Linked DNA regions of Homo sapiens: regions 1, 2 and 3 are each linked to region 4. The links are contacts of gene promoters, found by promoter capture Hi-C in blood cells and fetal thymus (Javierre and others, 2016). All regions are on one chromosome and are shown on one strand. The core of a region is centred on a gene start or on the middle of the fragment in contact, and the rest is flanking DNA. Distances in the headings are between cores, read along the strand shown.

Region 1 (7,531 bases), core at 341-2,840, 300 kb after region 4:
ACATGCACATACTCAAACATGCGTACACACACACACATTTACACACGCAGGACTCTGGAGCCAGAGTAGAGGCTGTGGCCCAGGCACTACCTGCTGGCTCCCACCTATGGTTTGGGGGCCATACCTGTTCCAGCTCTGTTCCCAGGGTGGGGCAGGGAGGTGGGGGTTGGGGGAGTAGTGGGGCACGGCTCCTAAGATCCAGCCCCCATACTGACAGACGGACAGACAGACATGCAAACACCAGACTGAAGCACATGTAATATAGACCGTGTATGTTTACAATGTTGTGTATAAATGGGACAACTCCTCGCCCTCTACCTGTCCCCTCCCCCTTTGGTTGTATGATTTTCTTCTTTTTTAAGAACCCCTGGAAGCAGCGCCTCCTTCAGGGTTGGCTGGGAGCTCGGCCCATCCACCTCTTGGGGTACCTGCCTCTCTCTCTCCTGTGGTGTCCCTTCCCTCTCCCATGTGCTCGGTGTTCAGTGGTGTATATTTCTTCTCCCAGACATGGGGCACACGCCCCAAGGGACATGATCCTCTCCTTAGTCTTAGCTCATGGGGCTCTTTATAAGGAGTTGGGGGGTAGAGGCAGGAAATGGGAACCGAGCTGAAGCAGAGGCTGAGTTAGGGGGCTAGAGGACAGTGCTCCTGGCCACCCAGCCTCTGCTGAGAACCATTCCTGGGATTAGAGCTGCCTTTCCCAGGGAAAAAGTGTCGTCTCCCCGACCCTCCCGTGGGCCCTGTGGTGTGATGCTGTGTCTGTATATTCTATACAAAGGTACTTGTCCTTTCCCTTTGTAAACTACATTTGACATGGATTAAACCAGTATAAACAGTTGCTGCCTGTGTGTTATGTGTGTGGGGTGGTGGGGGAGCTAACTAGGGGAGGTGGGCTGAGGCAGTTAAGGGGTTAATTCCTGGTGGCAGGATGGGGGAAAGGACTTAGCTATAGGTGTATGACACTGTGCAGGGTTGGTCTGCTCTGGGGCCGTGGAGCATTTGGTTTGGAGGGGGGTGGGGCTGGGGATCTGGGCTCCTGACTATTGATGGGTAGGGGCTCTAGGTTAATTCTTTATCGATGCAGAATCGTCAGCTCATTAATCACAGAAGAGGTCAGAGCTTGGGGGTACAGAGGGGATGCAAGCTCTATCCCCCAACCTAGGCTAGGAGTGGCCACAAGCTTGGGTACAAACACAAGCCCCAGGCCTCTATCCCTTTCTGGTCCCCTGAAACATACCAGAGACCACAGTGGGATCACCCTATCAGCCTCCCAGGCTTTTGTTCTATTCTCCAAATGTATCTCTAGTGACCATCATCCCAGTGTAGCTACTGCCTAGATTCTCAAATGGAAAGAATGGAAACCCTATTATCCAGGATGGACCTTCAAGTCTCCCATGTGCTCAGAGAACCAAGGCTGGAGAGATGGCACTTTGACCCCCACAGCTCCCCACTGCCAGTGAGGTAGCTCAGCTTCCTAGATGCCTCCCAGGCAGGTGCTAAAAGTTACATGTAAGTCTTCACCCACAACAGAAAGCTGTTTGGAGAAAAACAGTCAAGGCCCCAGAGTAGCCCCATGACTCCAGACTTGCTTTGACACCTTGCACACCAGGCCCATCTGCCCAAATCCCCAGCCTTAGTTGCCCATTTTCTCTGGGATACCCACAGTGAATTCCTCAGAATTGGGTCCAGTTGGCAGCTCCTGCCACCCTTTGCACCCAGATGAAGCACAGACAAGTCCCCCTTGGAGCCCAGCAAAGGCCCTTCACAGCTCCACGCCCAGTTTGATGGCACCCAATATCCTGAACACAGGGATCCTGGGGATGTACACAGCCTCTGTCGAGGCGGGTGGAACAGCTCCAGCGATGGCTGAGGGTTTGGGAAAGAAACAGGTTTGGAAGAGAAGAGTGGGTAGGTGAGGGCAACGGAGAGATGAAGAGGAGGCTCTTAATGCCCAGTTCCTGTCAGGCCGACTTCTTTGATGTCTTTAGTCTCCCCTCCCACAAGCTTGGACTCAGTAGGTCCTTGATGGCTGGTTACTGCCACCCTGGGGGCCATATGGTCTCTAAAAGGGGCCATTAACCCAGAGTGAGGGCATTCCACTGAAGCCCGCCCTGCTGTGGGAGCCTTGAGCTGTCTCATGGCACAGGCTGCACTGCCACCTGTTGGCCATGGCTAGGAATGCAGCCACACAGCATGGGAATCCCTGCCACCATAGTGGGGACTCACCAAGGACTGATGGGATGCAGACAGAACGCGGCTCTGGGGACAAAGGATCCATCATCCCCAAGAGTCAGCTCCCATCCAGAGCTTTTCTAGCCATCTCCTTCACTGCCCCCTAAGCCCCGTGATCACCACGGTAAGCTCATTCAATCAAATATTTATTGAATACCTACTATATGCCAACATTGTGCAGTAGTGACTTCTAGAATGATCAATGATACTGAACTATCAGGCTGAATTCACCTCTTCTGCCTAGAGAGTATCTAAGTGGGTCTCCCTTCCAGAAGATGAAGGAGTTTGCTATTTCAGCCCAAATCCCCTTACCCTGGTTCTGGTCTTTAGGGCTTGGGAGTTAGCTCATCCCAGCTCCTGTTACAATGCTGCTGCCTTCCTGCCCCCCACTGTCTCTGGCAACTTTCAGCTTGCAACTTTCCCAGACCCAGCGGCTTCCTAGCAAAGTGTGGTAGAGCCAGGCAGGCCCCTAACCTCAGCTCCTCATCTGGCTTCTACCTCAGACTCCCAGGCAATGGGGTCAGAGGAGCCTCTCTGAGTGAACTGCCAAGTGGGAGCCATGTGAATGGTACTTTACACTGTAGGGCTTCGCCCTGCTGGAGCAAAGATCATAGCCCCTATCCGCAGCCTGACGCTACCCCTGACCGATATACCTTCCCTCTGGCATCTCCCCACAAAGGTCACCTTCCATTCAAGGAATCAAAACTCAACTCTGGTAACAGGCACAAAGTTTCAGTTATGCAAGATGATGAAGTTCTGAATTATGCAAGATGCAAGACTATTCAGTTCTAGAGGTCTGCCGTGCACATAATCTCTTAAATTTTAAGTATCGTACACACTTACAATTTTGTTAGGTGATCTTGGCCAGGCGCGGTGACTCATGCCTGTAATCCTAGCACTTTGGGAGGCTGAGGTGGGAGGATCACTTGAGCCTGGGAGGTTGAGGCTGCAGTGAGCCATGATTGCACCATTGCACCCCAGCCTAGGTGACAGAGTGAGACCCTGTCTTGAAATAAATAGATAAATAAATAAGTAAAGAAAAAAAGAGAGTAGGTCTCATATTAAATGTTCTTACCAGAGTTTAAATTTTAAAAAATCAACTAGGGCTCACCCTCAACACCCCCCTCCATTTGTCAACCTCTACAGCCTGCATGCCACAGGAATCAGCAGCCTGACTGTTGCACTTGTCCAAACACAACTGACTGCAAGGCTCCCACAGACACATGCCCAGGCACTCCTGCCCCTTAGGATTCTGTGGTAAGCAGACCACCAGCAGACAGAGGCCCCCAGGAGACAGGCCCATAGGAATTTTCTACTTAGGGGACCGCAAAGTCCCAAAGGGCTACAGGGAGTTGAACGAGAAGAGTGCCCGACAGATTGCAGGTTGTGGGGAGGTGTCAGGCATTTATTTCTGGAGCAGAGGTGAGATGGAGCAATGGCCTCAGCAGCGGACGCAGTTGCGCATGAAGTCGACACAGAGGCTTGTGTAGTAAGTAGGGTAGTCACGGAGGTGGCTGACGTGTGCAGATGACACGAAATCCACAGAACGCGCCAGGACCCGGCGTGCCAGGCGTGCCTCCACCATGCGTTCTATGTCTCTGGCCAGGACTACTTCGTCAGCCCTCGAGTAGAGGTAGAGCTCGGGCCAGCGAGAGCCCGCGTCCTGTAGCCTGTCATAGAAGTGGGTGTGGAAGAGGGCTGTGATGGGAGCAAGCAGGACGTGGAACAGGACGACCACCAGGGCAAAGGCCACCAGCAGCAACAGGCGCAGCATGGCGGCCCGGCGCTCCAGGATGGCTGCCAGGGCCCGCAGAGCCCCTACCAGGTTGCTGTCACCAGGAGCGCTGTCAAAGATGGTGCCCACCACACGCAGGCGGCAGAAGCGACGGGTCTGCAGGAGCTCCAGCACGTAGCGGTACAGCATGACGCCACCGTTGCTGAAGACATGGAAGAGCAGGGGCTCCTTCTCAATCTCATAATCAAAGAGCAGCTCGAGCAGCTTCTGGGCCAAAACACGAAGTGAAGGGATACCCAGTGACTCGGAGAAGAAGACCATGTGCCACGGGGCTGTGTATCGGATTACGATGCAGCCCTGGGGAGAGAGGCCTGGTCAGTCCTCACAGATGAGGTGGGGGTAGTGGGTACAAGCTAAGGTCAGAGGGGCCCAGCAACCCCAGCCTGTAGGACATAGGCCATGGGGCCCACAGCGTCAGCAATGCTCTGGGTCCTGCTTCAGCCTGAGCCCACCAGCCCGCTGCCCACAGACACAGGTGCCTTCTGGGCAGGGAAGGTATACTTAAGGCCCATTTTTGGACTAATTGCTTCATGCTGGCCAAGCCCTCTTGGCCTGGAGTGGTATTTGAGGCCCAGAGCCTGAAGCATATACTGGAGACACCTGGGCTGACCAGAGGAAGTCTCTTTACTCTGGTTCCCTCCTGTCTGTGCCCCGCACTCCCATCCTAGGCCTTGCACATTTGGGATGGGGCCTCACTGCTTGGCTATACCCTGTCCCAGCACCTCAGATCTGCACTGTCCCTACCTCCCAGACAGAAGTAGTACCCCCATGAGACCAGTACCCGAGAGCTGGCCTGCAGGCGCCAGCCCTGACCACCAGAGGCCACTTCTGAGCCAGGCCCACATCACTTTCATCACTGGTCACTGTCACCTTCCCTCTCTCCCAGGCTCCTAAAAACAGAGTCCATACTCTCTGGACTCAGGGACCTGACACTCAAATGTCCCTGGTTCCCCGGCCTGGGATCACTCCTCATATCTGCCCTGAAATTCCAAATACAGTAAACACTTGTTCCTCGAATTCTATAATCTGGGCCCAAACTCCCTCTAGGTTTCTATATTCCTCACGCTTGGGCCAAGGGTGCCACAATCTCCACACAGGTCCCCTTCTAGGTCAGTTAGAAAAGCCACCATGCCTGGCTCCTAATCCCCTCTCATCCTCCTGTTCAGAGACAAAGGGCCCTTTGTCAGGGGAATGTGACTTTGGAGAGTGCTGGGGTCAGACAGGTCCGGGTTCAACTCCTGGCACCACTATGTATCAATAGTAAGAACAAGGAGCAGCTTACTACTTTCTGAGTCTGGGTCCCCATCTATAAGATTACGGTGAAATTGGGATAACACCCACCTCATAAGGTTATGGGTAAAATTAGATGAAAAAAAATGTATCTCAAATGATCAAAGCAGTACCTGACACAAAGTAAACTCTCAACCAACAGCAGCAGTAATTAGTGATGTGGTAGTGACAAGGAGAAAATCGTATGGCCACAGTAGTTAAATGACCCATGGCTAAACAGGGATGGTCAGCAGAGGTACCTTGCCATCAGCCGCCTGACCTCCTAGCCCTGGAGTGCCTAAGCATCCCTCCCAAGACTCTGAAGAGGAGGCTGCTTAAGGCCACCCACATTCTCCCAAATGCTCAAATCTGACAGAGGCCTTTCAGTCCCCACTGTATGTTTCTCCCTGGCAGCATCTGGAATCACACACTCCTAGAAATATTATCTTGCAGCCCAGTCTCTTCAATAAGCCAGTAACATGAAAAAAGGGGCTGTTCTATAGCCTGGACGACATAGGGAGACCCCATCTCTAAAAAAGAAAAAAAAAATGGTTGGGCACAGTGGCTCACACCTGTAATCCCAACACTTTGGGAGGCTGAGGTGGGCAGATGACGAAGTCAGGAGTTCGAGACCAGCCTCACCAACATGATGAAACCCCGTCTCTACTAAAAATACACAAATTAGCCAGGCGTAGTGGCACATGCCTCTAATCCCAGACACCTGGGAGTCTGAGGCAGCAGAATTGCTTGAACCCAGGAGGCAGAGGTTGCAGTGAGCCGGGATCACGCCATTGCACTCCAGCCTGGGCGACAGAGCAAGACTCTCTCTCAAAAAAAAAAAAAGAACAACAACAAAAAAAATACTAGCTTGGCGTGGTGGTGCATGCCTGCAGTCCCAGCTACTCGGGAGGCTGGAGGCAGAATGATTGCTTGAGCCCAAGAGTTGAGGCTGCAGTGAGCTATGATTGCACCACTGCACTCCAGCCTGGGTGACAGAGTGAGACCTTGAATCTAAAATCAGGTGGGGAGGGGAAGAGTTCTGGATTTAAAAGAGCCTTAAGAAGAAACAAAATAACTAGATGCAATGTGTGATCTTAGATTGGATCCTGTTTGGGGCACATCCGCTGTAAAGGATGCTTTAGGGACAATTAGGGAATCTGAATATGGACTGGAAACTAAATGAGATCAAACAAGAAGGTGGAGATCATGATCTGAAAAAAGCAGGATACAAAGCAGTAGATTCAATAGGTCTCATGTAGGTAAAGAGAAGATATACCCCCCCAAAAAGCTGGAAGGATATACACTAAGTGTAAATAGAGGTCATCTCTAGGTGCTAGAATATGGTGTTTTTGTTTTGTTTTGCTTGTTTTGTTTGAGACAGGGTCTCACTCTATCACCCAGGCTGGAGTGTAGTGGCACGATCACAGCTCACTGCAGCCTCAACTTTCCAGGCTCAGGTGATCCTCCCACCTCAGACTCCCAAGTAGCTAAGACTACAGACACGCACCACCGTGCCTGGCTAATTGTTTCAATTTTTTTTGTGGAGATCAGGTTTCACCATGCTGTTTAGGCCGGTCTCAAACTCCTAGGCTCAAGTGATCCTCCTTTCTGAGCCTCCCAAAGTGCTGGGATTACAGGCATGAGCCACAGCATCCACCTTGTTTTCTTTTAAATAATAAAATATTAGAGTTTTGGGTTGGACTTTTTTTTTTTCTCTACATTCATCCTGTCCTCCCTATTGGAAAGTCTTCCTTTCCAAGACTACCCCTCCCCCAACCCTGCAACCTCAACACCTCTGCCTTCTCTGGGATCTTACTCCATCTACTTTCTCCCTCATGCCTTCTGCCCAAGTAGCATCTTTACCCCTGCCCTGTACAACGGCCCATTTCCCAAAGACTCTGCAGATTCTGCCACACCTTCCTGGGTTTTCATATCCATCTCTGGCCACTCCTCCTTTCCTTGTAGGACCCTCTTCATCTTCCACTCCATTAAGTTTGGGTTCCTCAGGACTGTCCTAGGCCCTCTTCTGTCCCTCTACACACTCCCTGGGGGATCTCATCCACTCCAGAGCCTATGGATTCTCTTCTAGTGTTCCGGTCTCAAAAAACACACCCCCCTCTACCCAGGAGGTGCCCAGCCAGAAACCTGGCATTACCCTGGGAACCTCCCTATCCCTGTGCCCATGCCCAATCTCTCATTAAACTACCATTCTACCTCCTGACAAACTCCTCAATC
Region 2 (6,488 bases), core at 1,218-3,717, 330 kb after region 4:
TTGAGCCCAGGAGTTTGACACCAGCCTGGGCAACGAAGCAAGACCCCACCTCTACAAAAAATAAACAAATATAAAAATAAAAATTAGGTGGGCATGGTGGCATGCACCTGTAGTCCCAGCTACTCAGGAGGCTGAGGTGGGAGGATCACTCGAGCCCAGGCGATTGAGGCTGCGGTAAGTTATGATTGTGCCACTGCACTCCAGCCTGGGTGACAGAGCAAGGCCCTGTCTCAAAAATAAAAATAAAAATAAAAAATCTCACATCACTGTGGAGTTTAGGCTGGGGCAAGCCCGAAGACCAGTGGAGGCTGTTGCAGTAATCCATATGCGGAACAAGGGTGTGAAACTGAAATAGCGGCAGTGGAGGTGAAGACAGACAGACTGATCTCAGGGAAATTTAGGACATGTAATTGGCAGGAGCTGGCAACAGTTCAGATGAGGGCAAGGGAGAGGAATAAGTCAAAGACAACTTTTGGCTGACTAGGAGGGTGGTGACCCAAGCACTGAAATAGGACCAACACAGGGCAAGGGGCAGGTGTGAGTTGATGAGTTCAGTTTGGGACCTGTTGACTTGAGGAGCCTGTGACACATACCAGTGAAGAGTCTGCCGGTCACTTAAGTACATAAAGAGATCTGGAGCTCAGGTGGGAGGCCCAGACTGAGGAGACGGATTTGAGAGTCGTGCGCCTATAAATGTAATTTGAAGTGATGGGGTGAATGAGGTCACCCAGGGATTACAAAGCATGAGAAGAGAACTAAGAACGGGAAAACGACCTGCAAAGGCACTATCCTGCAATGGCAACTGAGGATTCAGAGAGTCTGGAGTAGAACCAGGGGATTCTGGGGTTAGGAAAAGAGTCATTCACAATCCATCAGAGAGACCAAGCACGCTGGGACGGTGAGCTAAACCACTAAATCTGACAACAGGAGATTATTGGTGACACCTTGGAGCACAGAGGAGAACAGGATCCATGCCCTTGGCTTAGTGGGGAAAAACCTGGACTTTGGAGTTATATGCAGATCTAAGTTCAAATCCCATTCCCATCCCTATTTGAGACCTTCAATAAATGAGCAAACCCTTCTAAACCTTAGTTTCTTCATCTGAAAGTTGTGGATAATGATGACCTCCTGAGGATCTTAAGAGGATTAAAACAAAGAATTTAGGCAGGGTGCGGTGGCTCACACCTGTAATTCCAGCACTTTGGGAGGCCAAGGTGGGAAGATAGCTTGAGGCCAGGAGTTTGAGATCAGCCTAGGCAACACAGAGAGACCCCATCTCTATAAACAAAAACAACCACAGAGAGAGAGAGAGAGTGTGTGAGTGTGTGTGCGTATGGTGTGTGGATAGCTCTTAATCAACACTCAAAAAATGTCAGTTTCTTCTCCCTGCCTTCATTCCTTCTGCCTTCACCAGGAAACACAGCTAACATCACTTTTTCCTTAGCGGTCAACAAGCTTAGATACAATTTATCCCAGCAACTGACTCTTGAAATTGACACATTTTGGTCTTTTTTCCACTGTTTTCATCTTATTAATTATTTTTAAAAATGGTAGTTAATGGGTCTTTTTTTACCCTCATCAAGCTTACTATTAAAGAAAGGTTGAGATAAATAATACATGACTGGAGGCTCTTAATTAAATATACTTAATGTCTTTTATCTCCCCCTACTTCTGAAAAACCTTAGTGACATAACCCCGCTGAAGAAATATAAAAAAGCATTCAGTCACAAAAGTTCATGGAAGGAGGCAACAGGAGATGAAAGAATTCAACAAATATTTGGAAGGCAGAAGGCAGGTGCAGGGAGGCTAACCGGCTTGAAGCAGAGGAAATTGCAAGCAACTGCCAACAAGGGGAGCTTACCAACAAGAAACCAGTCAATTCAGCCAGTTTGACCTCTAAGAGGCTTAATGCTTGAAAGCACAAATTACCACTGAAGGTCAGAAATGAGGTATGGAGCCCAACCTAGGGGGATTCACTGACCTCTGTGTGCAGAGCACTTGCCTGCACTCCAGACCCTCAACCGCCAAGAAAGAAATGACTCTAAACTTTCTTGCTGCATGAAGAGGAAGGAAGTTGGACTCTGTAGGCCTCCTTGCACAGGGACCTCAGGCAGGGCTTGAAGGGCAGGAATGAGACATAGAGTTGAAAACTGATGAGTAGAGGGAAGGTCTACACACAGCATTGTGTGAGCCCTTCCCCCACCTGACTCCCAACATGCCATGGCGAGGTGTCTGTAATAGCACCCCTGCTCTCTCACCCTCCCTGGGAAAGTAGGAAAGTCTTCTCCAGAGACCCTGATATCTCTATGAGGGTGTTAAAAAAAAACAAACAAGCTTCCACTGACTGACATTTATGAATTCCCCAGTGAGAAGACTAGTTGCCTAATAAATATCCAAACACTGAAGGATACAGTGATTTAAAGAGCCCACCAAGGGCCTACTATAGTAAATTAAAAAAGACCTTCACCAAAGCATATCATTATACAACTTCAGAAAGGTTTCAAAATCATCAGGAGTGAAAAAAATAGACAAAGGCACAGGAATCAGAATGACTTCAGATTTCTCATCAGTAACAGCAACTGGGGAGGGTGAATCTGAGGGAAGCTTTTTTTTTTTTTCGAGACAGGGTCTTGCTGTGTTGCCCAGGCTGGAGTGCAGTGGCGGGATCATAGATCACTGCAGCCCCGACCTGGTCTCATTCGATCTTCCCACCTCAGCCACCTTAGCCTCCCAAGTAGCTGAAACTACAAGTGTGTGTCACTATACCTGGCTAATTTGGGGGTGAGGGGATGGAGGTCTCACTGTGTTGCCCAGGCTGGTCTCAAACTCCTGGGCTCAAGTGATCCTCCTGCCTCAGCCTCCCAACATACTGGGATTATAGGCATGAGCCACCATACCTGGCCAGATAGCTTATTTCTTTTTTTTTCTTTTTTTTTTTTGAGACAGAGTCTCACTCTGTCACCAGGCTGGAGTGCAGTGGCACAATCTCGGCTCACTGCAACCTCCACATCCTGGGTTCAAGTGATTCTCCTGCCTCAGCCTCCTGAGTAGCTGGGACTACAGGCACGCGCCACCACGCCCAGCTAATTTTTGTATTTTTAGTAGAGACGGGGTTTCACCATGTTGGCCAGGATGGTCTTGATCTCTTGACCTCGTGATCTGCCTGCCTCGGCCTCCCAAAGTGCTAGGATTACAGGCGTGAGCCACCGCGCCCGGCCCAGATAGCTTATTTCTAACGCGGAGTTATATACCCAGCCAATCCAACATGTGGTCAAAAACAATATTTTTAGACTTTCCAGGACAAAACAAGGGAGTACACAAAGAAGGAAGAAGATGTGAGAGACAGGAAATGGGCATCCGTCAGAAAAACTCGGCAAGAGGAAATCCCAGGACAACATTTGCATACTGGCCTTAGTGAGCAACCAGTCTAAACTATAGTAGAAAGAGATCTGTGGGACAGAGGTTTCCAGGGAAAAGATGGAATTAATCAGTTACAGATTGAACATTTGGAAAAATAATCACTACATATTTGGGACATTTGGAATGAAATAGCCCTTGGTACTTCAAACCAAACAATAGGAAAAAAATGACAATTATTAACTCCAGGTAAAACCAAACTGTAAGAAAAAAATGTAATAGTAGTTTGCTACTTGAAGAGTTTATTTACTTGATCAGTCATGTTAACCTGCCGGGCACAGTGGCTCACGCCTGTAATCCCAGCACTTTGGGAGGCTGAGGCAGGCAGATCACTTGAGCTCAGGAGTTTGAGACAAGCCTGGCCAGCACAGCAAAACCCCATCTCTACTAAAAATATAAAAATTAGCCAGGTGTGGTGGCACATGCCTGTAATCCCAGCTACTCAGGAGGCTGAGGTAGGAGAATCGCAGGAACCTGGGAGGCAGAGGCTGCAGTGAGCCAAGATCACACCACTGCACTCCAGCCTAGGCAACAGAGTGAGACTGCATCTCAAAAAATAATAATAATAATGTAAACACTATTGATTTAACTCTAAAGTATGGGAAATAATGTTGGAGGATAGAAAGAAAAAAAATGGGAGTTAGAGTGGTGCAATAAAACTGATTCCTCCACTGGGCAAGGTGGCATGCGCCTGTAGCCCCAGCTACTCAGGAGGCTGAGGCAGGAGGACTGCTTGAGGCCAGGAGTTTAAGGCTGCAGTTTACTATGATCGTACCTGTGAATAGCCACTGCACTGCAGGCCGGGCAACATAGTGAGACCTCATTTCAGAAAAAAAAAAAAAAAAATGAAGACCTAATTCCTCACCTGCCAGAATGATAAATACATAAATATTGCCTAAGGTTGATACATCGAATGATAGCAGTGTATTAGTTTGCTAGAGCTGCCATAACAAAGTGTTATAGACTAGATAACTTAAATGACAGAAATTCATCATCTCACAGTTCTGGAGGCTGGAAGGCTGAGATTACAGTGTCACAGGGTTGATTTCCTCTGAGGCCTCTCTCCTTGGCTTGCAGATGACCATGTTTTCCCTGTGTCTTCACCTGGTTTTCTCTCTGTGTATGTCTGTATCCTAGTCACCTCTTCTTATAAGGACACCAATCATATTGGATAAAGGCCCACCCTAATGACATAGTTTAAACCTAATTTCCTCTTTAAAGACTGTATCTGCATTTACAGCCACATCCCGAGTTACTGATGGTTAGGACTTCAACATAGGAATTTGGGGAAAACACAGTTCAGCCCATAACAAGTAGTATAAGCTCGTTATTTGGAAATACAGGGGTAAACAGCAGAAAAAATAGCCAAAAGAGTTTAAAGTAGCCTCCTCTGTGAGGAGAAACTGGAGGGCAGCAAGAGGTGAGGCAGGTGCTATTACTATTTGATTTTTTTCAAAATAGCAAGTGGCGGAGCTGAGCCTTGAACCCAGTCTGACTCCAGATCTCATGTTCTTCCACTCTCCCCCAAGAGTAGGAACTCCTCCAGCGCCCTGCAGCATCGTATTCATCTTTGCATCTCCCACGGTACCTTATACAGAGCCACAGGATGGGCCTTCACCACATACATAAGATTTACAGCTGCATCACAGTGACGTTTAAAGCTGATGTTTGTTGATGCTTCTTTTCCTGTCTTCAAAGAAGATAGGGGAGACTGAGGTCCAAGGAAACATTGAGGAGCCGTAATGTGCCCTGCTTAGAGGTCCCTGCCTTTGGCGTCCTGGAATCGCTGGGTGCATCTCTAATGGCACATTGAGTTTTGATACTAGAAAGGGTCCATTTAAGGCAGGGCAAGGGCACACGGTGCTTTCCTGCCTGATAAAGCTAGTGGTGGTGTCTCAACCCCACCTCCCTGGGGTCTAGAACAGCCATTCACCCCCATTTTCTTGATGTCAGTTTGGCAACTGAAGGCAGCCACAGCCTCCCTAGGTTATTCTCAGATTTATGACTGCAATGGCATTCACAGTGATTGATGCAGGATCCCATGAGGGGGTTTGGTCATTTTTGTGTTCAGGTTGGTCCGCAGTCATTCACCTGGTTCTTAAGGCCAGCTAGATTTCGTGGTTATCTCCATCCTGGAGGCTGCGTGGACGCCCTTCTGGAAGCACGCATCCCATGTCCTCTGGGGAGTAGTAGAGGTTGGTGTGTATGTATGTCTGTCTCCGCATGCCTCAGATTATTGCTTCCTAATAAAATTCTGATAGCTGGGCCCCATCAATATCTCAAATACATGTGAGGAAATGTTAATTTAGAATCAATTTTAGGATGTTTCAGACTGTAAAGTCCTTTTAACTAGATCTCTGGCGAAGATGTAGAAGCACTTTATGGGACTGTAAATTTCATGTTGAACAGTCTTCGTGAAATACACATCTCTCCTACACACAAGCTGTTCTCTCCATATCAATCATGGCCCCTGCAAGTAATGTTTCACAAATATTCTGTAAATCACAGAAAACTCCATGATAATGTGAAATATGACTTTCACTTGTCTGTTAGACAAAAGAATCACACATGCCTCTCTCCCATCAGCACTAACATTTGTTATGGATAATAACACTTTCAATCACAACTATTTTTGGAAAACAGGTTTATCTTAAACCTTCCCTCCCCCCACTGAAAATACTCTCCCAAGGACACAGACTCCTACAAACCACAGCCCATTAATCCAACTATGGAATGGGAACATTTTCTTCCCACTAACTTTTTTTTAAGTTGTTTTTAAGAGTTAGTGTAAAAGCCCGAGGTACAAGGTTAAGGAGCACTTTAACTTAGGTGATTGGCATAAGAGGGAGGCCATGTCTCTCAAGACCTCAAGCCTCTGACCCTGTATGAAGTAAGCCACAAGAGAGGCCCAGATTTTGTTTGTTTCTTGTTTTTCTTTTTTTAATTTTTGTGTTTTTTTAACACAGTCTCACTCTGTCGCCCAGGCTAGAGTGCAGTGGCGCGATCTCGGCTCACTGCAACCCGCCTCCCGGGTTCAAGGGATTTCTCCTGCCTCAGCCTCCCAAGAGCTG
Region 3 (6,697 bases), core at 1,474-3,973, 270 kb after region 4:
AGCTAGTCTGCCTCTCTGAACAAACCCTGTGGGAGAAAGACTTGAAAGCATCAGTTGGAGAAAGGGAAAGTGAAGAGCAAATATCTGGCTCAAAGGAGGGGCCAAGAGGCCTTAGCACAATGACATTTGTATCAAGAACTCCTCAAAGATGGCCATGGACACAGTGGGTACTACTTACCCAAAGGTGGTTTTGAGGGGATGGATACATGGGGAGAACCAAACCCTCACTCACTGAGTATCCCCTTCCCCATTCCTCGGTAGAAGACTGCATCCTTTTTCCCATAATTATTCAGAACAGGAGGCCACCCCTAGCCCATTTTATAGGGAGTGAGGAATGACTATGGAAGATTTGGGAATGGGTGGAATCAGTGAAGGAGAGTGTTTGGAGAGATTAGAGCAAAGGCCAAGGTGAGAATCTGAGGGACTCCTGCACTTGGTGTCAAGATAAGGTCCAGGAGGCAGGGAAGGAGACAGAGGAGGAACACTCAGTGAGTTAAGAGGGGCACAGGAGAGCATGGTATCTCAGGATCCTAAGGAAGAAAGTTTCTAAATGTATCAGGTGGTCAGCAGTCAAACAGGGAAAGACTGGAGAAGGGGCCCGTTGTATTTAGAAGTCTGGCAGTGACTGGTGACCTCTAAGAGGGCAGTTTTGGGAAAGGAGCCAGAGTGACAAGTATCACTTCCATGGGGTAGACCCAAATACCCTGCAAGCCTTTCAAAGGTATAGGAATGGATCGTGTACCTTCGTTTAGAAAACTGCTCACCTGCAGCAAGCTGGGAGAGGAGGAGCAGAGCACCTAGCCCTGCCTTGGGTGGGTATAGGCCTTGGCCAAGGAGTCAAAGCCCCAAAGAGAAAGGGGAGGCTGGGGGTGCCAGGCAGCTGCAGACTCACAGAGGTAGCGAGCTACACTCACTGAGTGTGGCCCAGCCTGCAGCATTTAATGGTGTGGTTCAGGAAAGTCAGAGACAAGCTTCCAAGTCGGCCACCACAGGTGACAGCTGACACCTGAGCATGGCTGGCAGGGCTGGGGACTTGGACATCAGTGAGGCCTGTGTTCTAAGGACAAACCCCTGGCAGACACAGTCTACCTCCGTCCCTAGCTCCCCACATATACAGACCCACACACACACTCAGGTCAGAATACAGACATAGGAAGTCTTAAAACATGTGTCCTGAAACCACAGACACAGGCATACTGACCATGAGACACAGAGATAAGGGACACTTGCTCACCCACTTCCAGATATATGCCCACACCCCCAAAGCTGAATAGTTCAGGGTCTATCCTCTGCCTTGACCTAGGCTTTAGGGAAGCAGGTCGTGAGTGGAAGAGGCGAGAGAGAGAAGGTTCAAGCAAGAGACTGAAAGGACAGGGAGAAGGAGGGAGGGAGGAGGAGGAGAGGGCGAGGGGGCCTTAGACAAGATTGATGGCCTCGTTGCCATTAAGAAAAAAATTAGCCGGTGGCGGCTATCATATTAAAGGGTGAAGAAGCCGTGAATTATTTTCTTAAAGATCTTATCGCTTACAATGATAATTTTACCTTCCAAAAGGCCACTTTTAATGAGGCGAAGAGCCAGGCAAAAAGTCATGATTTAATGCCGGGATTTTTTTTCAAAACACATTTTACTGCTTTTTGGTCCATGTTTAAAAAGCACCAGTGACCTTTTTTTATTCCGCTTGCCCCAGGTGTAATGCCGAGGCCTCTCAGGGCTTCTAACCTAGAGAGAATGAGAGAGAGAGAGAGAGAGAGAGAGAGAGAGAAAGCGCACAAACAGGAGCTTTTTCATGGGCCGGAGGTCGGGGTGACCCACACTGTTCCCCCTCGTTAGCATCTTCCTTGGGACCAGAGAAGGAGAAGAACATTGCCTGAGAGCACCTCCTTTCTGAGCTGAGGGCTGGGTCACCCATGAGGCCTCCCACTGGGCTTGGATGGGTGAAGAAGGAGCTCCACGTTGCAGAGAATCCCATGCAGGCCCTTTCCAGCCTCTTCTCTCCTCCAGCTCCTGGGGTATGGGCAAGTCAGGGAGCCCTGCCAGACCAGCAGCTGTCCCTTCCCTTTCCAGGGCCCTTGCCTGAGGATGTGCAGCATGGCCACCGCATGCGGGTCACATCCTAAGGCTCAGCCGGAGATGAAGGATAAATGGCTGCTCCATCTTTCCCAAATTGCTTTCTTTGGGCTGTCACTGGCGATTTGGCATGGTTTTCTAAGCTGGGGAAGACTCCTAGGGAACTGTGTGCTTCCGGCTCAGAGCTGTACAGGCTGGAGAAGGTGGGGGGAGGAAGTATGGATTGCTTTCAGGCCTCCAGGCACCCAGTTTGCAGCTGAACAGGCCTTGGCAAGAGCGGGCTCTCAGGCAGAATGTGCCATGTGGTATTTAGAATTGTGGTGATTGCACACAATTTCAAGCAGACAGTTTATTAATCTAAACTGCAGGCGTATGTAGAAGAGGCCATACAAGATTGACATGGGGGGATTAGTTTTGCTGGGGTTTTTGCTGGGGTCATCACCGTAGCACCGGGATAAATGGACCCACATACATCCCTAGCTGCACGTGGGAAACTCACATGCTATTTAATTTACTGTCTCCATTGTGGGGCTGCCATCAGCCTGTATTAAGGGCAGGCGGGGTAGCGGGTATATGGCTTTACCCACAACCCTTCATGGGGATCCCAGAGTCTCTGCTCTCCAAGGGAAAACAAAACATATATAGTCTCAGCCTACTCGGAGTGGACTGGGAGTCTCACTCCACTGGGACAGAGATTAGCCTAAGCAGGGTCCCTCAAGGGGTCTCTACCCATCCCTAAAACCAAGCCATGCTCTCCCACAACCACACTCCCAGGACTTGACCCCATGCCTTTAGAATCTCAAGAGTGGTCTTTCTATCCCTCAGCCTCCTTCTCTTTGCCTGGCTCCCCAAAGCACCACAGGACTGGGAACTCTAGGGACTGACTGTAGGTCTCATTTGGCCTGAGGCCACATGTCTTTTTTCTTCTTCCAGTCCCTCCTGTTGTCTGCTTCCATCAAGAGGGAAGGAGAGTCTCCAACGGCATCACCCCACTCATCTGCCACCGATGACCTCCACCATTCAGACAGATACCAGGTGAGGAGGGGTGGTGAGTGGCCATGAGAAGCAAGCTCACCTGGGGGAGGGCTTCAAGAGCCTGCCCGGTGCTAACTCCTCCTCTCCTCTGTAGGCCACAGGAGAGGCCTGAACTGGGTTTGGTTCCCCCTGTGTCCCGTGCCCCTAAGTGAACTCAGGAGGCATACGTGTCAGGGAATAGGCCTTAAATAGATGGATTTTAGGGAGAGATGCCAAGGTCACATGGGCTCCATGGGCTCTGAGCACCTCTGAATCATTCTATCCATCAGGAAGTATCCTATGGGGTTTGGTTTCATAAGAGACCCAGATACATAGCCCAGAATCACCTGAAGATTTCAGACTTCAAAAGCATGATACCGGCCGGGTGCAGTGGCTCATGCCTGTAATCTCAGCACTTTGGGAGGCCGAGGCAGGCAGATCACGAGGTCAAGAGATCAAGACCATCCTGGCCAACATGGTGAGACCCCATCTCTGCTGAAAATACAAAAATTAGCTGGGCATGGTAGCGTGTGCCTGTAGTCCCAGCTACTTGGGAGGCTGAGGCAGGAGAATCGCTTGAACCCAGAAGATGGAGGTTGCAGTGAGCCAAGATTGCACCACGGCACTCCAGCCTGGCGACAGAGTGAGACTCCATCTCAAAAAAAAAAAAAAAAAAAAAAAAAAAAAGGCTAGGCGTGGTGGCTCATGCCTGTAATCCCAGCACTTTGAGAGGCCGAGGCGGGCGGATCACGAGGTCAGCAATTGGAGACCAGCCTGGCCAACATGGTGAAACCCCATCTCTACTAAAAATACAAAAATTAGCCAGGCATGGTGGCGGGCGCCTGTAATCCCAGCTACTCCGGAGGCTGAGGCAGGAGAATCACTTGAACCCGGGAGGCAGAGGTTGCAGTGAGCTGAGACCACGCCATTGTACTCCAGCCTGGGTGACAGAGCAAGACTCCGTCTCAAAAAAAAAAAAAAAAAAAAAAAAAAGCGTGATACCTTAAGCAAATAACCATTCAATTCTGCCAAACCTTGGTATCAGGCCCAGATAGAGAGACAGGCACACACTGCCTGTGAGTGTCTTGGGCAAATAGGAAGGGAGTCATCACACAGTCCTACAATATCATAGCAGAGGGGCCTAAGGGTAGCATCTTAGCTATAAACGGACCTTCTCTGGAGTAGGAAGGACAAAGAACTTCCCCCAAAACTTTTGTCTAAGGAGAGGCAGAGCCCTGTCTTTAAGAACCCCAGAGCCGTTAGATGAAAGAGAACAGTGCCCTATTCCAAGGAACATTTGTCCAAATGGCAACAGGGCTTCGCAGGGAGGCCCAGTGTGAGAAGGGAAGAACAGCCCTGATCTGATACAGAAAGACAGGGCTGCAGGGACCTGTAAGCTTGGGTAGAGAACCAGGGGCCCTGCTGGCACACCTGACCCTTTGTGGGAATTAAAGAAAGGTGTTCTCTGCACCCCTTCCTTCCAGCTGACACAGCCTGGCCTGGCACAGGGTGCAGAGCTTGGAGAGTAGAGTGCCCAGCACGGCTGGACAGACTCCGCCGAATGCCTTTGCATGGGACTCAAACTGCATAGCCCAAAGTGCAAGCCCTGGGAAGGGATCCCTGCTCTCTCTAAGGGAACCCCAGTTTCAGAAAGGAAGCCCAATAAGCCCCTGGGAGACACTGCCCCGATCCAGACAACCCTGGTTCAAGGCAGAGAAATGACCAGACCCCAGGGAATTCTGATCTGATAGGGAACAGAGACAAGGCTTTGTTCCAGAGCATTCTGGTCCAGAGGAATAGACAGCCCCACCTTCAGAGGCCTGTCCTCTGTACTGCACTCACGGCATGCGCCTTGCCATCTGTTCAACTAGGAAAGAGTAACCATCAGGCAACAATGCCTCAACTCCCTGACCCACCTTCCTCCCCACAAATGTCAGTATTTCTTTTATCTCCTAGAGACTATGAGGAAAGCTATGGACTCTCTTGCCTAAAAACATACGCATGTGTTTTTACATACACACAGGCACACACACATGCAGTGTTATACATACAACTTCAGGAGGTTAGGAAAGCTCTAGATCCCATCCCAATACCACTTGGAGATCTCTGAAGCCCAGGTTAAGACCCAAGACCCTGTTCTAGACTCTAAGCACACCTCCGAAAGGGCAAATCAAACTAGGTTGTGTCCTACAAGATAAAGCTGAAGCTCCTTATCATGGCAGCGAGGCCTTCTGTGATATAGATTCAACCTATATTTCCAGCTTCCATTCCAAATACTGTCCATGAATCCTATGGGCTATGCTCACTGAACTAATGCTAAACACTCCCTGGATGAGGCATTCCTTTCTTGCCTCTATGTCTTTTCACATGCTATTTCTTCTAACAGAACTGTTTTACCCCACTACATCAAATTTCTATTTATCCTTCCAAATCCTGCCCAAATATCATCTCCTCCAGGAAGTCTTTCTGGATTAGCTATCTCTTGACCCTTGTGTGTCCTGGTTATTGCCCCGTCACCCTACATTGTGATCACCTGTTCAGGTATGTTTCCGTTATCTACAAACCATCCCAAAACTTAGTGGCTTAACACAACTCATTATTTATGATGCTGTGGTTGACTGGGCATTTCCTCACTCATGCAGCTCATTCATCCTGGAGGACTGGCTGGGCTGGAAAGTCTAAAATGGCCTCACCGCATGTTTGGGAGATTGGGTGTCTTGGCTCTCTTCCATGTGGCCTCTCATCCTCCAGTATGTTCAATCAGCTTTCTTACTTAGCAGTCTCAGGGCAGTGTCACACCAAGAGGGTAAATGCCAAAGCCGCAAGGCCTGTTGAGGCCTAGAATCTGGAACTCACACATCACTTCCACCACTTTCTATTAAGCAAAGCAAGTCACAAAGCTAGCCCATAATCGAGTGATGAGGAAAGGCAGCTCTTGATAGGAGAAGATGCAAATAATTCTGGCCATATTTAATCTTTCACAATGAATCTGACTCCACTAGACTTGGAGTTTCTCCAAGGCAAGGACCTTGTCTTATCCTTCCTTTACTCAAACATTTATTTAGTACTGACTCATGTTCAGCTTAGTGTCCTTGCCTTCAAGGGGTTAGATTTGCAGATAGACAATTATGGTCCAGTGTCTTGAGTGCTATGACAGGAGTATAAATAAGTTTCTAGGGGCCAGGCACAGTGGCTCATGCCTGTAATCTCAGCACTTTGGGAGGCCAACGCAAGTGGACTGCTTGAGGCCAGGAGTTCAAGACCAGCCTGGGCAACATGGCAAAACCCTGTCTCTACTAAAAATATAAAATAAAAAAAATTAATAATAAAGAATACGTTTCTAGGATACTACAGTAGAAGGAGGAGAAAATCAGAGTAAGCTTCACACAGGAGGTAATGACTGAAAACGGACTCAGAGAAGGAACAGAAGTTCACTTGGCAGACAAGGAAGAAAGGTTACTCCAGATATAAAGACAACACTATGTAGAGAACATAGAGGTGTAACAGAATGATGTATCTGGGGACCTGCTAGCAGTTTGCTTTTGTTAGAAAGTAGAATGCAAGGAAAGTTAGTAGGTGAAGCTGGAAAGCAACCCAGAGACTAGCTGGGTATCC
Region 4 (6,771 bases), core at 50-2,549:
ACACTCCAAGTCCCTGTTTATAAATTGGCTTTTAAATGGTAGGAGATTCAGGTATAATAAACTAAGCTCCAAGCAAGAACCCACTAAAACAAGGCATGCTGTATATGATAAAGTCAGAATAAAGCAGAATTTGATGAAGCCAATTTCTGGAAGAAACTCTACAATCAAAACTCATTTAGCCACTCACAACCTACTATAGTTTGAATAGCGTACACTCTTTTAGCCAATAGGATTCATGTTTTGCTGCCCTTCCGCTGGGAGACTGATTAAATGTCTGACAAGAGTAAATGCCATTGAAGTGGCCAGAGACCTCTCGCAGACACAACGATGGGCACTATTTGTTGCAAAATCCAGCTCTAAGGACAAAATCCAAACCCCCATTGAGGGGCCCCACATCCAGCATCTTCCAAGTCAACAAGGAGCAGTTATATTTTGCAAGAACTCGCAGTCAAGCCTCAATCCAAGTTCATGCTTTTTTTAAGAAAACACCTGTTGCTGGACCATTTGCAAGACAGGCAAACAGAAAGCTAGCCAGGTTAGGCCCTTATTCACTCCTTCCACCATCACTACTACCACCGCTTCAGATTTACAAAGAGGTAAACTGCTAACCTGGTGTGTGGGCATGTGTTGGCGAGAGGGTCAAGGGAATGTTCTACCCACAATCTCCATGCTCCATTTCTAGCCTCTCTAGTCAAACCTTTTTCTTCTCTAGTAATCCCAGTAAGTCAACCCCCTTAATAAACTCACCCATCCTGTCTTGCAAAGCTCTGCCCCGCTCCCCCTCCGCCAGAACATTACTCAGTAGATTAAGTAAGCATCCAGGGTAAGCACATGGGCCAGCACCCCAGGTTGCATAAATTCTGCGCACCGCGACCCTCACCCCGCATGCATTAACCAGGGCCCAATCTTGGCGGGGCCATTCAGCATCACCCACCCCGGGGTGTTGCCCCCAACTCGGGCCCATCCAAGTCCAGGGGAGAGTAAGGGGAGGGGCGGGGGGCCAGGAGACCAGCCCTCCTTCCCAGGGCCGCCCCCGCCCCCCGTCAGCAGCGGGAGAGGCTGTCGCCATGGCAACGCCCCCTCCTCGGGGCCAGCGCGGCAGGCTCCCTCCAGGTGCAGGCCCCGACGTCTCCCTCGGCCTCAGCAAGCGCTCAGGGCAGTTGGCGGCGGCGGGCGCGGCCCGCGCCGACTGCGGCGCCGGCCAGGCAGAGGCAGGGCCAGCTCCGCCCGCTCCCCACCGCCCGTTCCCGGCCGCCTGAACAGCGGCAGCCAGCACCACGAGTCCACAACACACCGACTCACCTCCGCGCACTCTGACCCCGACCGACGCGGCGGACGGGCGGGCGCTGTGGCCAACCGCTGAGCCCGCTGCCGACCCCTTTGACCAATGGGCTGCAGTCAGGCGGGGCTTCTTCTCCCCAAACGCTCGCTCTCCCGCCGACATGCGCGCTAAGGTATGTCAAGATGGTGACTCCCGGCCGCCGGCCTTATGGGACTTGTAGTTTTGACGTTGCACAAACTCAGAAGAGAAGACGGGGACGGGGACATCACTTCTGATCTGTGAAAGGAATTTTTTTAAAATGAAACTTTCTATGGCCTACAGCGATCTAACCAGGATCACAGACACACATTAGTGGAGCCCCCCATCTCCGTTTTCCCGCCCTCCAATATACCCGTAAGGTGAATGTGGGCTCACAACGTGACAGAATTCTATTTACATGACTCCTCATGATTCGTTCATTCAACAAGTAATTATTGTCATCTACTTTCGGATGTGGGCCTGGGGGAGACCTGAGACAAGGAGGGATTAAGCTAAGAGGAAAATGCTTAGATTTGTGAAGGGCCGTCCTAAGGAAGAGGGAACTGGCTTGTTCAGGTCCACTCAGAGGAAACTTCTGTTTAAAAGGTTTCTGGCCTCAGCTGTGAGGAGCTTCCCCAGTCAGTCTCTCCAGTAAGCTGGAGAGACCTGTGTTTCTTCATCCTGGTTATGCCTTTCTGGGTAGTCATGGGTCCCAGGTTATGAGCTGGGAATGATGGCTTTGACAGCTTCCCAATCGGTCAGGACCCCATCCTCTGGGCCCAGCTTCAGTTACCAAGCCCCTCTGTGTGCTGTCTGCATACTTACACTTAGGATGATGTCATTTCTGGGCCCTACCACCTCTGAGAGCGGACCTTACCATAACGGTTTCCACCTGAGCTGAGAGTGCCTGGTAATCCCCATATCAGGGAATGCCTTCCTTAATCCCACCCACGTCATAGGTTAGGTGATTCTGCTGTGGACCTATAGCATTTATCATATTGTCTTATAATTGTCTGTTTCCTTGTTGTCGCTCCCACAGGGTTTTAAGTCCTTTAGGAAAAGCATTTTTTCCATATTGTTCATGTTGTATCAGTAATACACCGCATAGGGCAGGTATAAAGAAGGCCCGCAATAAATGTCTGCGAACAAATGAGGGAATATCCAGCAGCAGGGACAGACTTATCCCGAGGTCAGTAAAGTGGAGGCACTATCCCCCAACTCTTGGAGCTGGAACAGATTCTCCTATTATTACCTACACATTAACCCCAGTTGGTCAGTCAGTCCATCTGTATTTATAGTGCCTCTCTTAAGTGTCAGGCACTGTTTCTGTTGCTGAGGATTCATTGATGAATAACGACACACCTCTATTCTCAAGGAGCTTTTAAATTGGAGAGGGAAGCTGGGTGTCGTGGCTCACGTCTGTAATTCTAACACTTTGGGAGTCTGAGGCAGGAGGATCCTTTGAGACCAGGAGTTCAAGACCAGCTTGGGCAACATAATGAGATTCTCATCTCTACAAACAAGTTAAAAATTAGGCAGGCATGGTGGCACGTGCTTGTAGTCCCAGGTACTCAGGAGGCTGAGGTGGGAGGATCACTGGAGCCTGGGAGGACAAAGCTGCAGTGAGCCATAATAAATAAATTGGGGAGGGGCTGTAGGAGGAAGAATAGATAATAAAACAAGTAAATATAAAAATAAGACAAGAGGCAGTGAGATAGCTTTGTTATATACTGAGTTATGGCCTGAGAGTAGGGCACAGCCAATCTTCTTGGCTGTAAGAATGAAGTAAATCTATAGTATCTGGATTCAAGGCTTTATGTAATGCCCAGCCCCAACATCCTCTGTGGAGCCTTCCATGGTCCCCTTGACTTCCCCAGAATGTGTTCTTTCCTCCTTGGTGCACTAGGGCTCAACTGTACAGCTTCCAGGACTTCACCACACTGTAAGTTCTTTTTGTACAAAGACCAGGCAAATTGATTCAAATAATAGAACAGTTTAACAGCTCAGTATACACTTGGTATCTTACACTGCCGCCTAACACAGCACTTGGCTTTCTCAAGCCATGGCTCTGTTGTGTGCTATCTGGTTCCCTAGAAAACAGAGCCTGGGCCGGGCACAGTGGCTCATGCCTGTAATCCCAACACTTTGGCAGGCCAAGGTGGAAGGATTGCTTGAGCCCGGGGGTTCATGACCAGACTGGTCAACATAGCAAGATTCCATCTCTATAAAAGAAAAAAAAGGAAACGGAGCCTGAGGCAAAACTTATGTGCTCAAATTTAATTGGGGAGTTCAATCCCAAGGCATCAAGAGTGAGGGGAGCCGGGTATGGTGACGCATGTAGTAGTCGCAGCTACTCAGGAGGCAGAAGACTGAGGCAGGAGGATCGCTTGAAGTCAGGAGTTCAAGGCTAGCCTGGGCAACATGGCAAGACTCCGTGACTTAAATAAACAAATAAATAAAAGAGTGGGGGAAGGGGGGAAGTGAAGCAGGGAAGGAGGGAAAGAACGTACAAGATAGTGTCTTACTGAGAAGTTGGCCAGTGCCTCAAAGAAAATACAACTAGTTGCTCTGTCGTACAAGGTGTGTAGAACCATCCTGTGTGACAGGGAGAAGGAAGGGTTATGTTACCCCACCACTGCCGTAGCCACAGGGGGTGCCAGATTCCACACCTGGAAGCACAGTCATTCATTTGAGACTAGAAATGGTGAGAGGAATCAAAGCCTCTGGTTGGGTCAGATTAGGTCCACTGCAGTCCCGCCACAGTGGGCACATTGGAGGCTGTGTCAAAACCTAGCCATCATCCCAAGGGAAACAAAGACAACCAGAGGTGTTAGTAAATGAGGTGGGAGTGGCAGTTGAGCTGTGCAATAAATAAGTGGCCAATGGCCAGAGTCGGGGATGCAGATGAGGCAAGGGCAAGTGAATTTGGGGAGGCAGATGAACTGAGTTCAATACACAGACACACAGACACCCTAGCTGCTGGATTGAGCGACTGAGCTAAAGTGAACACTGAGAGCAAGAACAAAAGAGAGGACCAAGTTAAGCCTTTTTTTTTTTTTTTCTTTTTGAGATGGAGTTTCACTCTTGTTGCCCAGGCTGGAGTGCAATGGCGCAATTTCAACTCACCGCAACCTCCGCCTCCTGGGTTCAAGCAATTCTCCTGCTTCAGCCTCCCGAGTAGCTGGGATTACAGGCATGCACCACCAGGCCTGGCTAATTTTTGTATTTTTAGTAGAGACAGGGTTTCTCCATGTTGGTCAGGTTGGTCTCAAACTATCGATCTCAGGTGATCCACCCGCCTTGGCCTCCCAAAGTGCTGGGATTACAGGCATGAGCCACCACGCCTGGTCAGTTAGGTCTTCTTATACCCTGTCAAACCACCAGGAAATGCAGCAAGGTGGTCATCAAAGCTAGGACCTTAACCAGCTGTCAAAGCGCAGAGAGTGCAGGACCCAAGGATAATACATGGCAGCCCGCAAACCTTGGCACAGCTGAGAGAACCCAGACTGGGTCTGAAACCGTTTTATGTGGCAACTGGAAGACCTGCTACTGCTGTCGTAGTCCCTGTAAGCTATGTAAAACAGCATAGGAGGGTGGGCTCAGAGAGAACCTGTTCAGGTTTGAGTCCTGGCTCCATCTGTGACCTTAGGCAAGTCACATACCTCTCTGAAGTTCAGTTTCTTCATCTCTAGAATGTAGATAATACTTGTATCTACTTGTTATTGGAATTAAATATACAACTGCTTAGCACTATCTAGAATAAAGAGTTCAGTAAACAGTGGCTATTACTATTATTCTCACCCTTCCCCTACCCCTTTCTCCTGCCCCTCTTCCCACCATGACCACCACCACCCCACCTCCTCTTCTCCCCAACCCAACCCCCTAGCAGTCTTCTGCCACTCCGGGAGGAGTCAGGGCTGGATCTGGCCATGCCGCCTTCTTCCTGCTTTTCCCCAGAGCTGTTCCCCAAGAGCTTGAGCCATTCATCTCCCTGGTGACCTGAATCTGAACTAAGAGATGGATGTGGGGTGGCAGAGGCCAGGGTGGTAATGTGCTCCCTTATCTCCGTGCCCCTCACTAGGGCCTAGTTAATTTTCCCTTTGATTTTAATATAGATTTATTGAAAGTTTCAGTTATCAAAACAAACTGCAGCAGCAAATTGGTGTTCTTTGCAGGCCTACAAGTGCCTATAAAGCTGCCATGCTTGGGAACGAATGGCGCTCTCCGGGAGGTCAGTCATGGCAACAGGAAGTCCCTGGGGACACACACACTGCAGTTTAATATTTTTCTTATTAGCCTTTTTCTTCTTAGCTATCTAAGCCTCCCCTTTAAATCGGAAATCAAATGGAGCCACCTGCCCAGGGAGGTTCTCTTCCTTAGGCTGTGACACTCTCTGCCTACTCTCTGTCCCCTCTCTAGTCCCAGTGTCCTTACCTCAAATCCTGTGACTCCACCCTGATTTGCCCCCGGGCCCAGAGAGAGTCATGATTCACATGCCCCAGAGGTGTGGCTCACAAATGTCATGAATCCCACAGCTTTGTCCCAACTGTACAAAGTCAGTTTGGGCTATCTAGCCACTAGTCAGAGGCAAAGCAGCCCTAGAAAAGATTGGGGCCCCAGATTTCTTCCATATCTTATGCTCAGAAGGGAGGAAAAAGCAAAGTTTGAAAGCAAAGCAGTTGCTTTCAAAGAGGCAGACGATCCTGCCAGGATGTATTGAACTCAACGGAAGTAAAAAGGAGATGGTGATCCTAGAGAGTGTGCAAGCTCTCCTTCCAGCCCAACAATTTTCCAATTTCATTCTCGTAGTCCCAATGCTACTCCCAATATGGCTCCCCCTCCTCTCAATCGCAGCTTGATTTTTGAGGCTCCTCTCTCTGGCCCCAATTTGCATAAGGACCAGCCAGCACTCTCTAGTGCCCCAGGGGCTCCCGTAGCTAGAACCATTCACTGCCACTTCTAGGATCTGAATCAGTCCTGTCCTAGCGGAGGGTCTCCATGCCTGGTAATCTCTTTTTTTTTTTTTTTTTTTTTTTGAGACAGGGTCTCACTCTGTCACCTAGGCTAGAGGGCAGTGGCTAAATCACGGCCCACTCCCAGGCTCAAGCACTCTTTCAACCTCAGGCTCTCGAGTAGCTGGGACTATGGGTTTGTGCAACTTCGCCTGGCTACTTTTTATTTGTTTGTTTGTGTTTTTTTGTAGAGACAGGGTTTTACCATGTTGCCCAGGCTAGTCTCAAACTCCTAAGCTCAAGTGAACTTCCTGCCTCAGCCTCCCAAAATGCTGGTATTATAGGCATGAACCACCCCACCCGACCCACACCTGGTAATCCTGAGGGCACCGTCATCCTTTCTGGGTCTGATATGCAGCTGCATCACGTTTGTGAGCCGCATCCCAATTCCCAATGTCCTCGCCTCGTTCTTAAACATTCCCTGCTAGGCCGGGCACAGTGGCTCACACCTGTAATCCC

What was found. The method cuts DNA at HindIII sites, captures the fragments that hold promoters and counts their contacts. A CHiCAGO score of 5 or more calls a contact.
Region 1: a contact is called between a fragment that was not itself captured here and the fragment with the promoter of ERI3 in region 4, in 2 of 17 cell types (megakaryocytes and erythroblasts). The highest score is 7.1, in megakaryocytes.
Region 2: a contact is called between a fragment that was not itself captured here and the fragment with the promoter of ERI3 in region 4, in 1 of 17 cell types (megakaryocytes). The highest score is 5.7, in megakaryocytes.
Region 3: a fragment that was not itself captured here is called in contact with the fragment with the promoter of ERI3 in region 4 in 6 of 17 cell types (neutrophils, M0 macrophages, M2 macrophages and 3 more); the score reaches 6.7 in neutrophils.

Annotation. Positions count from the first base shown.
Region 1 is chr1:44,650,886-44,658,416 of GRCh38, forward strand. It overlaps RNF220 (ring finger protein 220), which reads left to right. Exons shown (of 15, transcript NM_018150.4): 15 at 1-838. It overlaps TMEM53 (transmembrane protein 53), which reads right to left. Exons shown (of 3, transcript NM_024587.4): 3 at 2,362-4,324. The coding sequence ends at 3,674. Among named protein-coding and RNA genes, the nearest start is that of SNORD145, 16 kb to the right of the region's middle. The HindIII fragment of the contact is 824 bases long and covers 1,179-2,002 here.
Region 2 is chr1:44,682,708-44,689,195 of GRCh38, forward strand. All of the region lies in intron 1 of ARMH1 (armadillo like helical domain containing 1), which reads left to right. LOC105378690 (a long non-coding RNA gene) reads right to left here. Exons shown (of 5, transcript XR_007066059.1): 5 at 5,607-5,887. Among named protein-coding and RNA genes, the nearest start is that of ARMH1, 11 kb to the left of the region's middle. The HindIII fragment of the contact is 270 bases long and covers 2,333-2,602 here.
Region 3 is chr1:44,623,296-44,629,992 of GRCh38, forward strand. It overlaps RNF220 (ring finger protein 220), which reads left to right. Exons shown (of 15, transcript NM_018150.4): 5 at 3,002-3,103. Among named protein-coding and RNA genes, the nearest start is that of SNORD145, 44 kb to the right of the region's middle. The HindIII fragment of the contact is 3,508 bases long and covers 970-4,477 here.
Region 4 is chr1:44,353,958-44,360,728 of GRCh38, forward strand. It overlaps ERI3 (ERI1 exoribonuclease family member 3), which reads right to left and starts at 1,300. Exons shown (of 9, transcript NM_024066.3): 1 at 935-1,300. The coding sequence starts at 1,069. RefSeq lists a silencer at 1,035-1,264 and enhancers at 1,134-1,634, 1,535-1,584. The HindIII fragment of the contact is 14,792 bases long and covers 1-6,771 here.